Regions from separate parts of the Homo sapiens genome. Here region 1 is linked to region 2. Evidence: promoter capture Hi-C in human tissues and cell types (Jung and others, 2019). All regions are on one chromosome and are shown on one strand. The core of a region is centred on a gene start or on the middle of the fragment in contact, and the rest is flanking DNA. Distances in the headings are between cores, read along the strand shown. Region 1 has its middle 110 kb from the start of VPREB1. Region 2 holds the start of VPREB1 (V-set pre-B cell surrogate light chain 1).

Region 1 (6,081 bases), core at 479-2,978, 110 kb before region 2:
TTTAAATGAGTGAATGGCGCTGTGTTCCAATAAACTTTATTTACAGAAACAAGTGGTGGGCCACATTTTGACTGCAGGGTATAGTTTGTGGACCCCTGAACAATGGCTTTTTCTGAAACAACACAATTGAATTGAGATTTGAAAGAATGTTGAGGCAGCATTGTTTGTCTGGGGTAATACCTGAGGTTTGTCATCTCACACCAGGGAAATCAGGGATGTGGACACACAAGAAGTGAGTTCAAGAGTGGATGATTAATAGGTGAAAGAAAGAGAAAAGAGAACAGCTCTCTCTCCTGCAGAAAGAGAGAGGGGCACCTGAGTGGGTCTTCCGGTTTTGTGGTGAAAAGCACAAGGTTTTATAAAGGAGCTTGAGGAGGTGGTGTCTTGATTTACACAGGGCTCTAGAGACTGGTTGGACCAGGTGTGAACGTTTGCATAGCACAGGGAGAAGCTGGCCATTGCACCCTAATCTTTTATTATGCAGATGGGTTCTTTACCTTACCAGGACCATATTGTCTGTTCCTTACTGTACCTGTGGTTGACAGAGAAAAGGGAAGATGGAGCCACCATGTTGAACATGCCTGGCCCACAGGTAGCCTTTTCCTATTGGCACAGCTGCTGGCATTCCTATGAGAGCTTATCAATGTCTGCAGCCCAATTTTACAAGATGCTCTTTGTTAGAAAATAAATGATATGGGTTTTTTTTTTCATTAGTAGGAAAACTTTACACTAGGACTTCCTTACTTTCAGTATCTGCCTAAATAATTTCTTTTTAATTCCTACATCAATGTTGCATGTGCAATAGAGAAGGTGACATGTAGGGAGCTGTGTCAGCAGGGGTTGCATATTTCTTGATGAGCATCCCATGATGCATTCTTCTTCACTTGTGGCAACATTAGCATTAACTAATCTACAGTAAAGTAGATGGGTCCACAGGTCATGGGACATACACTAGCTCTGCCAATTACATGTTGATTTAAATAATATCATTCTCTAAGGACAGCTTTTTTTCCCCCAGATCCTGGTATGTATGTGGAGTTGGGGAGAGACACCAAACTGTACCCCATTTCCTCATACATTGCTTATACTTTTAGAAGTGTTTGAAAGATAATATCACATACTAGTAGTTTACTGTTTCTTATTCAAGTTAGTTTTAATAGTCGCTAGGGTGAATGTTTTCAAAATTGTATAGATATTCGGGTTGAGGCAATACTATAAATTATGAGTTCATCTCAGTTTTTTTGTGCTAGCGTAATGACATTTCGGAGACATAATGCATATGTGCAAAATACTTCACCTCTCTGGAAAACAGTAAAGGGCTACATAATAGGACAGACAAAAATAAAGGCTTGGCGTAATGGCTCACACCTATGATCCCAGCACTTTGGGAGGACAAGGCGGGTGGATTGCTTGAGCTCAACAGTTCAAGACCAGCATGGGCAACATGGCGAAACCCATGTTTACAAAAACGATAAAAATAAGCCGGGCGTGGTGGCATGTGTTTGCAGTCTGAGATACTTGGGGGACTGAGGCAGGAGAATCGCTTGAGCCTGGGAGGTCAAGGGTATAGTGAGCCGAGATCGTGCCACTGCACTCCATCCAGCCTGGATAACAGAGTGAGACCCTGTCTCAAAATAAGTAAAAATTTATAAAACAAAGAATGTTTCTAACTGTAATAAAGGAGAAGTGATCAAGCTTAAGTGTAGCTTAGATTTAATCTTTGATTTCCGGGTACTATATTACTTAAAAATATGATTTGGATATTTAGAAGTTGTTCAAATTAGAAACTCAGGAGTGGGGTCACTGGTCACTAAGGTGCTGAATATTTTTAATACCTTAGTGGATATGTAATCAACAAAGCCAACGGAACCAATAGAGCATTTGCTTTCATAAGAATTTAAGTGTTGCTGGGTACTCTTAAATCGAGCTCACATTATTGGTGTCATTTAATATAATTACTGAATTTCTTTGAACCCAGTTTCCACTTTTTAAAAATTATTTAGCTCATTAGGCTGAAAACTTCTCTTTGTTACATTTTATTACACTTCAGTGTAATATGTGTAAGATGTACATTGCTTCTCTCTAGAAAGGTGAGACAAGTTGAAGCAGGGTTGGGGGTGGGTGCTTCCAGTTCATAGGTAAATAGGAGACAAACGGTTGCATTCTTTTGAGTTTCTGATTATCCTTTCACTGAATACACAATTTACATGCAAGATGCCATAGAGGAATAGTCACTTATGCCTGAGTCTGGCTTAGTGAATCTGCATTTTTACATAAAAAACTGGGCAGAGAAAGCCAATCAGATACACATTTGTCTCAGGTGAGGAGAGGGATGACTTTGGGTTCTGTCCTTTGTCCCCCACCTGTAAAGATAATCTATCAATTGCCAATTTATATTGCCAGGGTCAAATTCAACAGAACTGTTTTAGTGTAAAGATCTTGAGGCCCACAAGAAATTTCCTTTCTGACAAATTATGAGGGAGGTATATAGCTTTCGAAATCTTTGTAGTTATTTTTTTATTTTATTATTTGGGTTTTTTTTTTCTTTATTGACAAATAATTGTATATACTCACAGGGACATAGTGATGTTTCAATACAGAAAAGTTATAGTGAGCAGAGCAGGATAATTTCATATCCTTTGTTAAAGGAAAATAAATCTCCGGGACACCCCACTAAGCCAAATAATAGTTATCTTATTTAGAAATAAAATGGGAGGCAGGTTTGTTTGATGGAGTTCCTAGCTGAGGTGGGAGAATTGCTTGAACCTGGGAGGCCGAGGTTGCAGTGAGCCGAGATCGCGCCATTGCACTCCAGCCTGGGCAACAAGAGCGAAACTCTGTCTCAAACAAACAAAGACTATAGAAAAGCTATTTGTGAAAATGCTTTTTGATGTGCTGTTTTATGTCACAGAATGCAACCTGTGTTTTGATTCAGCAAGTTCAAAACACTCTTTTTGTGGAATCTAAGAATTGATTATTTTGATCCTATTGAGCTTTCATAAGAAAATATGAATATCCAGTTGTAAAAACTAGAAATAAGCTATAAGCTATCTGTGGAATGCTTTGTGAGGTGCTGTTTTATATCATAAAATTGAACTTGTGTTTTGATTGAACAAGTTGAAATTACTCATTTTGTAGAATCTAAGAAGTAACGTTTTGGAACTTCTTGAGCCCTTATTAAAAAATAGAAATATTCAGTCCTAAAAACTAGAAACAAGCCATCCGTGCAAATGCATTGTGATGTTCTGTTTTGTATCATAAAGTTGAACCTGTGTGTTGATTAAACAGGTTCTGAACACTTTTTTTTGTAGAATTTATGAAGTGGCATTTCTGAGCCTATTGAGCCCTTATACAAACATACAGTTTTAAAAGCTAGAAACAAGCTATCTGTCAAAATGCTTTGGGATGTGCTATTTTATGTCACGGAATGAAACCTGTGTTTTAATTCAATAGGTTCAACACATTCTTTTGGTAGAATCTGAGAAGTGACATTCCCAAACCTCTGAGGCCTTTAAAAGAAAATACGAATATTTTCCTCTAAAAACTAGAAACAAGCAATGCGTGGAAACGCTTTCTGATCTGTTAGTGTCACAGATTGGAAACTTTGTTTTGATTGAGCAAGTTCAACGCACTCTTTGTAGGATCTAAGTAGTGACATTTCCAAACCTATTGAGCCCTTATAAGAAAATATGAATATTTAGTCCTAACATGCTATCTGTGAAAATGCTTTTTTTTTTTTTTTTTGGCACAGAGTCTTGCTGTGTTGCCAAGCTGGAGTGCAGTGGTGTGATCTCGGCTCACTGCAACTTCTGCCTCCTGGGTTCAAGCAAGTCTCCTACGTTAGCCTCCCTAGCAGCTGGGACTACAGGCGTGCACCACCACGCCCAGCTAATTTTTGTATTTTTAGTAGAGATGTGGTTTCACCATGTTGGCCAGGATGGTCTTGATCTGTTGACCTCGTGATCCGCCTGCCTCAGCCTCCCAAAGTGCTGGGATTACAGACGTGAGCCACCATGCCTGACTGAAAATACTTTTTGCTATGCTGTTTCATAACACAGAATTAAACCTGTGTTTTTGTGAGACAGGTTCCAAACACTCTTTTTGTAGAATCTAAAAAAGTGATGTATCCAAACCTTTTGAGCCATAATAAGAAAACATGAATATTTAGCCCTAACTGCTGGAAACAAGCTATCTGTCAACACACTTTGTGATGTGATGCTTTATATCACAGAAATGAACTTATGTTTTGATGAAACAGATTCAAAACACTATTGTAGAATCTTAAGAAGTGACATTTCTGAGCCTATTGTGACCTTATAGGAACATACAAACATCCAGTCCTAAAGTCTACAAACAAGCTATCTTGGAAAACACTTTTTGACGTGCAGTTTTATAACACAGAATTGAACCTGCATTTTGATAAAAACACGTTCCCAACTCTCTTTTTGTAGAATCTAAGAAGTGACATTTCGAATCTATTGAGCATTTACAGTAACGTATGAATATCTTGTAATAAAAACTAGAAACAAGCTATCTGTAAAAACACTTTGTGATGTGCTATTTTATGTCACAGAATGGAACCTGTGTTTTGTTTCAGCAAGTTCTGAACTCTTTGTAGAATCTAAGAAGTGACGTTTTTGACCTTATTGAGCCCTTATAAGAAAATACAAATATCCAGCTATAAAAACTAGAAACAAGCTATCAGCGAAAACACTTTTTGCTGTTTCATATCACAAAATTGAACCTGTATACTGATTAAACAGTTTCCAAACACTTTTTTTGTAGACTCTTAAGAAGTGATGTTTCTAAGGCAGTGAGGCCTTATGGGAACATATACATAATCCAGTCCTAAAAACTAGAAACAAGCTATCTGTGATAACCATTTGTGATATGCTGTTTTATGTCAGAGAATGGTACCTGTGTTTTGATTCAACAACTGTGAGACACTCTTTTTGTATAATCTAAGAAGTGATGTCACCAAACCTATTGAGTTTTATAAAAAATATGAATAACCCTAAAAACGAGAAACAAGCTATCTGTCGAAAATGCTTTGTGATGTATTTTTTTATATCAAATAATGGAACCAGAGTTTTGATGAAACAGCTTCCAAACACTCTTTCTGTAGAATCTAAGAAGTGACATTTCCAAGTCAATTGAGTTCTTACAAAAAAAATGCAAAATCCAGTCCCAAAAAACTAGAAACAAGCTACCTGTAAAAATGCTTTGGGACATGCAGTTTTATGTCACAGAACGGTTCCTGTGTTGATTCAACAAGTTCAAAACACTCTTGATGTAGAATCTAAGAAGTGCTGTTTCCAAACCTATTGAACTTTTATTAAAAAAGTAAAAATATCCATCCCCAAAAACTAGAAACAAGTTATCTCTGAAGATGCTTTGTGACGTGATGTTTTATGTCACAAAATGGAAACTACGTTTTGATTTAGCAAGTTCTAAACACTTTTTCTAGAATATAAAAAGTGACATTTCTGAGCTTATTGAGCTCTTAGACGAACATACAAGTATCCACTCCTAAAAATGAGAAGAAAAACCTATCTCTGAAAATGCAATGTTATGTGCTATTTTACATCACAGAATGAATTTTCAAACACTCTTTCTGTAGAATCTAAGAAGTGAAATTTCCAAACCTGTTAAGCCCTTATAGGAACATATGGATATTCAGTCTTAAAAACTAGAAACAAGCTATATGTGAAAATGCATTGTGAAGTGCTGTTTTATGTCACAGACTGGTCCCTGTGTTTTGATTCACCAAAGTTGAAACACTCTTTTGGTAGAATGTAAGAAGTGATGTTTCCAAACCTATTGAGCTTCTATAAGAAAATATGAATATCCAGCCCTAAAAACTAGAAATAAGATATCTGTGAAAACACTTTGTGATGTGCTGTTTTATGTCACAGAATGGAACCTGTGTTTTGAGTTGACAAGTTCCAAACACTCTTTTTGTAGAATCTAACAAAGTGACATTTCCAATCTTACTGAGCCCTTATAGGAAGATGTGAATATCCAGTCCTAAAAATGAGAAAAAAAGCTATGAAATTGCATTGTGACATGTTGCTTTATGTC
Region 2 (5,850 bases), core at 3,289-5,788:
CTTCGGCCTCCCAAAGTGCTGGGATTACAGGCGTGAGCCACTGCACCCTTCCTGTACTGTATTCGTATAATAAAGTAAGCTAGAGAAAAGAAAACGTTATTAAGATAATCTTAAGGAAGATAAAATCTATTTACTATTCATTAGGTAGAAACAGATGGATTATCCTACAGGAGGAGGAGGAAGAGGAGGGGGTTGGTTTTACAGTCTCAGGGGCGAAAGAGGCATAAGAAAATCTGCAAATAAGTGGACACACGAAGTTCAAATTCCTGTTGTTCACAGTTAGTGGTACACAGGAGACACTAGGTAAGCTAAAGGTTGGGCTGGGCATGGTGGCTCACACCTGTAATCTCAGCACTGTGGGAGGTCAAGGCGGGAGGATCGCTTGAGGCCAGGAGTTTGAGACCAGCCTGGCCAACATTGTGAAATGCTGTCTCTACTAAAATACAAAAAGTAGCTGGGCATTGTGGCATGTGCCTGTAATCCCAGCTACTTGGGAGGCTGAGGCACAAGAATCACTTGAACCTGGAAGGCAGAGGTTGCAGTGAGCCAAAATAGTGCCACTTCACTCCAGCCTGGGTGACAGAGTGAGACTGTCTCAAAAAAAAACAAACAAACCAAAAAGATTAGCTAAAGGTTGAACTTTCAGTGATGAACTAAACAGAAACAATCTCATAGAGATTGTGGACAGGAGAAGAAACAAGCACAGGTGCAGTTAAAACCTGTGATAAATGCCCCGGCAGAAACAAGTGTTAGGCCAGGCGTGATGGCTCATGTCTGTAATCCCAACACTGTGGGAGGCCAAGACAGGAGGACTGCTTGAGGCCGGGGGTTTCAAGCCTGCAGTGAGCTAAGATTACACCACTGCTCTCCTGCCTGGGCGGTAGAGACCCTGCTTAAGAAAAAAAAAAGAAAGGCTGGGCGCGGTGGCTCACGTCTGTAATCCCAGCACTTTGGGAGGCCGAGGTGGGCTGACTACGAGGTCAGGAGATCGAGACGATCCTGGCTAACACAGTGAAACCCCGTCTCTACTAAAAATACAAAAAAAAATTAGCAGGGTGTGGTGGCGGGCGCCTGTAGTCCCAGCTACTCGGGAGGCTGAAGCAGGAGAATGGCGTGAACTTGGGAGGTGGAGCTTGCAGTGAGCTGAGATTGCGCCACTGCACTCCAGCCTCGGTGACAGAGCAAGACTCTGTCTCAAAAAACGAACAAACAAAAAAACAAAACAAAACAAAACAAAAACCTAAACCAAAACCAAAACGCAGCATAGTCCATGAGAGAGGAAGAGCAGGGCAGGCCTACTCACCTGGGGCTGTCGGGGAGGCTGCCCAGGAAGGGACTCTGAAGTGAGCACCTGGAGGAAGGAGGTTAGTTCTGAGGGACTGGAATTCATCCTGGCATTGGGATCACGGGCAAAGGTCCTGTGGTGACAAGGAGACTGGTGCGAGCCTGGCTTAGCACCATGTGAGAGCAGAGGGGTGGAAAGGCACTAGGTAAGCATGCCTTCGGATGTGAAATGAGGGAGACGGGGACTGGGGGACCCTGACATGAGGGAGGAGGAAAGGAGATGGGACGAATGGGTGACCAGAGGGACCACTAGACCACCGAGGGTGAGAGCTTGCTAATATCAGAGCCATGTGTAGGAGAATGAAGTGCAATCTTGGATAGACCTCCAGTGCAGGTGGTCCAGCCATCAATGACCATAACCACATGCATGATTGTAGGTGGAACCAGAAGAACCACCCAGGCAACTCACAGAACTGGGGAACTAATCAAGTCTTGTTTTAAATGACTACATTACGGGTGGTTTGCCACGTAGCAGTGGATCGCTGAAACAGTTTAAAATATCTATTCAGCCGGGCGTGCGGTGGGTAGCTCACACCTGTAATCCCAGCATTTTAGGAAGCTGAGGCAGGAGGATCTCTCGAACGCAGGAATTTGAGACCAGCCTTGAGCAAAATGGCAAGACCCTGTCTCCACAAAAAGTAAAAAAAATTAGCTGGGTGTGGTAGCATGTGCTTGTAGTCCCAGCTACTTGGGAGGCTGGGACAGGAGAATTGTTTGAGCCCAGGAGTTCGAGGCTGCAGTGAGCTGTGACTGCACCGCTACACTCCAGCCTGGACAACAGAGTGAAACCTTGTCTCTAAAAAAAAAAAAAAATCTACAAACCAGGCAGGAGCACTGAATAGCTCCTGTCTCCCCTGAGACCCTTGTAGACCTTGAGGTCTGTTACAGAGCTCACCAACCTTCTCTTGGTCTAGAATTATCTAAAAAGAGTTGAGTGCAGCCAGAAAGGACTGAATACATGGTGTTCTTCAATCCCATCAAACTGCTGTGCCCTGCAGATGATCCCTGAGTCCAGGTGTTGGTGGGTTGAGGACAAGGCTGAGGGAACAGAGGTGGGAAGAGTGGCCCAGGGCCAGGAGAATGCAGAGTTCAGAGTGCATGACCTGCATCTAACTCTAGATGCTCCAGGGGTCTGAGACCATCTCCAGCAGGGTCTGGAAGGCCCAGTCATTCCCCAGCACGCACAGTCACCACTGGATACTATCTTGCTCTGTGAGTGATGCAAAGGTCCTGGGTCAGTGAAGCCTGTGAAAGAAAGTTGGGACCAGAGTGTCTCTACGGTTGAGGGCTGGGCTTATTTGCTCTCTAAGTATAATTGTAAGAGCAAGTAGAAACACCTATCCTCTCTGAGCTTAAAAGGATCAAAAAGCTCTGACAGTGTCAGTGGTAGGGCTAGTTCAGGGACTGCAGTAGTGCTGGTGCCCACAGGTGGAACCTTCTCCTGCCCTGATTCCCAAGGACTGGTGCTCTCGGAGGGGTCTGGGAGGTATATTTCTCTTTCACAAATACGTGCACAACACATGAATGAGCTACTGGATGAGGGAATAAATGAATGAATGAGTGAAAAAAGCTTCCTTTCTCCTCTCCAGGAGTCAGCAGTCACTGGTTAGTTCCCCACTGCCCACCAGCCTGTGCAGAGGAGGGAGGAGCAACAGGTCATAGATGTGGTTGCAGCTGTTACTGGACAGAGTGGTCAAGACATCCTGTGTCTGCAGAGGCCCTCCCCAGCCCTCACCTGGGCAGTGGAGCTGTTGGCCAGAGAGGCAGTGGGAAGAAGGGTGGGGCTCCCAGAGTCGACCCTGCGGGCTGAAACTGGTGCAGCCTGCACCTCACCAGGCAGAGAATGGATGTGGGGCAGCTTGACACCGAGCAGGGGCTCATCTGAGCCTCAGGGGTGGTTGCTCTATCAAAGTGTTTGCAAGTAAACAGTCCCAGTGCACACCCAGCTGCTCAGTGCCACCTCGTGCACCCAGGGACACTTCAGCCTTGATCACAGGCCTGCACAGGTTCCAGGGGAGGAGACACTCCAGCTTTTTGAGGGAGGGTGAGCATGTGGGATCAGAGACTTTAAGTCCAAATTTCCCCTTAATTTTTTTTTAAATCTTGCAGGTAGTATGCAAACATACATTTAATGTATTATTTTTATTCTCATTTTTTTTTTGAGGCAGGGTCTCCCTCTGTTGGCCAGGCTGGAGGGCAGTGGTGAGATCTTGGCTTGCTGCAGCCTCAACTCAACCTCCCAAGCTCAAGTGATTTTCCCACCTCAGCCTCCCAAGTAGTTGGGACTGCAGGTGCCTGTCCGCCATGACCAGCTAATTTTTAAATTTTTTTTGTAGAGATGGGGTTTTGCCATGTTGCTCAGGCTAGACTCGAACTCCTGAGCTCAAGTGATCCTCCCACCTTGGCCTCCCAAAGTGCTGGGATTATAGGTGTGAGACACTGCATCCGGCTCCCAAATTTCCCCTTTTTATAAGGACACCAGTTGTACTGACCGGGGCCCCACCTCTATGACCTCATCTAACCTTCATTAACTCCTTAAAGGCCCTATCTCCAAATACAGGCACACTGGGGGTTAGGGCTTCAACCTATGGATTTGGGGGATGCAATTCAGTCTATCACAGTGCCAAGCTGCACCTGCTCGGTGAGCCAGAACAGGGGTGGGGAAGGCACCAGGCCCTGGTGCTTCTTTCCCATGCCTGAGTCACTCTACTTGGTTCTAGTAGGGAGAGGAGCATGGGCCGAAGGCAGTGCTGCAACATGGAAGGGGCAGAACATCCCAACCCGCTCTGGGCCCCCAGTGTCTTCTGCTGTACAAAGCAGGTGTTTTCACCCCCCGAGGATGTGTCCTCCCTTCCTGGCTCACCAAGCATTTAAATGTAGACAGAAAATTTATTTATCTGGGGTGCGGTTTCCTCAGGGGGAAGTTGAGGTCACGACCCCTGAGGTACCTTAACCCAAAGGCCTCCAGGGCACTGGCCCCAGAGTCTCCAGCAGGTGCTTCCTCCCTGAATGCTTCCATATGGCAAGATCAGAGCCACAAATGCTGCCCCGACGCTGTTCCGGTAACCGACGTTGCAGACCCAAGAAAGTCTGGGATGGTAGTGGCCAGGAACGGGGTGTGCCACGGCCCCACCTCTCAGAGCAGGGAGGAGGATGCTGGGCCAGCCCTTGGGGACCCCAGGCACCGTGGCCACAGGAGTCAGAGCTCTGCATGTCTGCACCATGTCCTGGGCTCCTGTCCTGCTCATGCTGTTTGTCTACTGCACAGGTGAGGGAACCCCCAGATCCCAAAGACTCCTGCCCCTTCCTTCATCCTGCCCTGCCCCCACGGCCCACATGCATCTGTGTCACCAGGTTGTGGTCCTCAGCCGGTGCTGCATCAGCCGCCGGCCATGTCCTCGGCCCTTGGAACCACAATCCGCCTCACCTGCACCCTGAGGAACGACCATGACATCGGTGTGTACAGCGTCTACTGGTACCAGCAGAGGCCGGGCCACCCTCCCAGGTTCCTGCTGAGATATTTCTCACAATCAGACAAGAGCCAGGGCCCCCAGGTCCCCCCTCGCTTCTCTGGATCCAAAGATGTGGCCAGGAACAGGGGGTATTTGAGCATCTCTGAGCTGCAGCCTGAGGACGAGGCTATGTATTACTGTGCTATGGGGGCCCGCAGCTCGGAGAAGGAGGAGAGGGAGAGGGAGTGGGAGGAAGAAATGGAACCCACTGCAGCCAGGACACGTGTCCCTTGAACTGAAGACAGCAGAGGCACGCATCCCCTTGGAGAGACTGTCATGGAAGAGGGTGGAGTCGCCGCCCGAAGCGCCGAGGAGGCTGAGCCACTCAGCATCTCCTGGTCCTGCAGTGTTGCTGTAAATCCCCATTGGAGACTGCATTAGGGAATTAAAGCTGCTTGTCACTTTTTGCTGAGTTTGGTCTGACTGTTGTGCGACTTCGTAGTACCAGCCTTGGGCAAAGGCCCGGGGCCCCGGGAGACTGGCAGATCACTGTGGTGAGCACTCACCTGAGTCCTTACTTTTGTGGGCCATGGGAGGCAAGGGGTTGACCGAAGCACCCTGGAGGGGCATCCATGCCCAGGACAGGACCCTCTGGTGTCATCTGATTCTGCCCAGCGGTTACAGGGCAAACAAGCTTAGAAAGCACCTGGTCTGGGCCTCCAGGGAGAACAGGAGCCAGGTAATAGGCCTAGAGTGGGTTCTCCACCTTGGTCCTATCGACGTTTTGGGCTGGACAGTTCTTGGTTGTGGGGCTGTCCTGCGGATTGTTGAATGGTGAGTGGTTATCTGTGGCCTCTACCCACCAGATGCCCCTTCCCAGTTGTGACAAACAAAAATGTCTCCAGACATTGCCAAATGTCCCCAGGTGGTAAACTCACACTGATTGTGAACCACTGGTCTAGATGAGCAAGTAAATGCATTTACTTATTTGTACAAGAGAGTGGCAGGTGTCGGCAAACATGTTCTTTTTTTCCTTTTTTTAGGGATAAAGTCT

What was found. The method cuts DNA at HindIII sites, captures the fragments that hold promoters and counts their contacts. A contact is called where the count stands out against the background at its distance.
Region 1: a fragment that was not itself captured here is called in contact with the fragment with the promoter of VPREB1 in region 2 in 2 of the 25 tissues and cell types used here (dorsolateral prefrontal cortex and mesendoderm cells).

Annotation. Positions count from the first base shown.
Region 1 is chr22:22,131,134-22,137,214 of GRCh38, forward strand. It overlaps IGL. Among named protein-coding and RNA genes, the nearest start is that of VPREB1, 110 kb to the right of the region's middle. The HindIII fragment of the contact is 6,305 bases long and covers 1-4,881 here.
Region 2 is chr22:22,240,248-22,246,097 of GRCh38, forward strand. VPREB1 (V-set pre-B cell surrogate light chain 1) reads left to right here and starts at 4,539. Exons shown (of 2, transcript NM_007128.4): 1 at 4,539-4,612; 2 at 4,699-5,268. The coding sequence starts at 4,567. The coding sequence ends at 5,090. It also overlaps IGL. The HindIII fragment of the contact is 13,267 bases long and covers 1,063-5,850 here.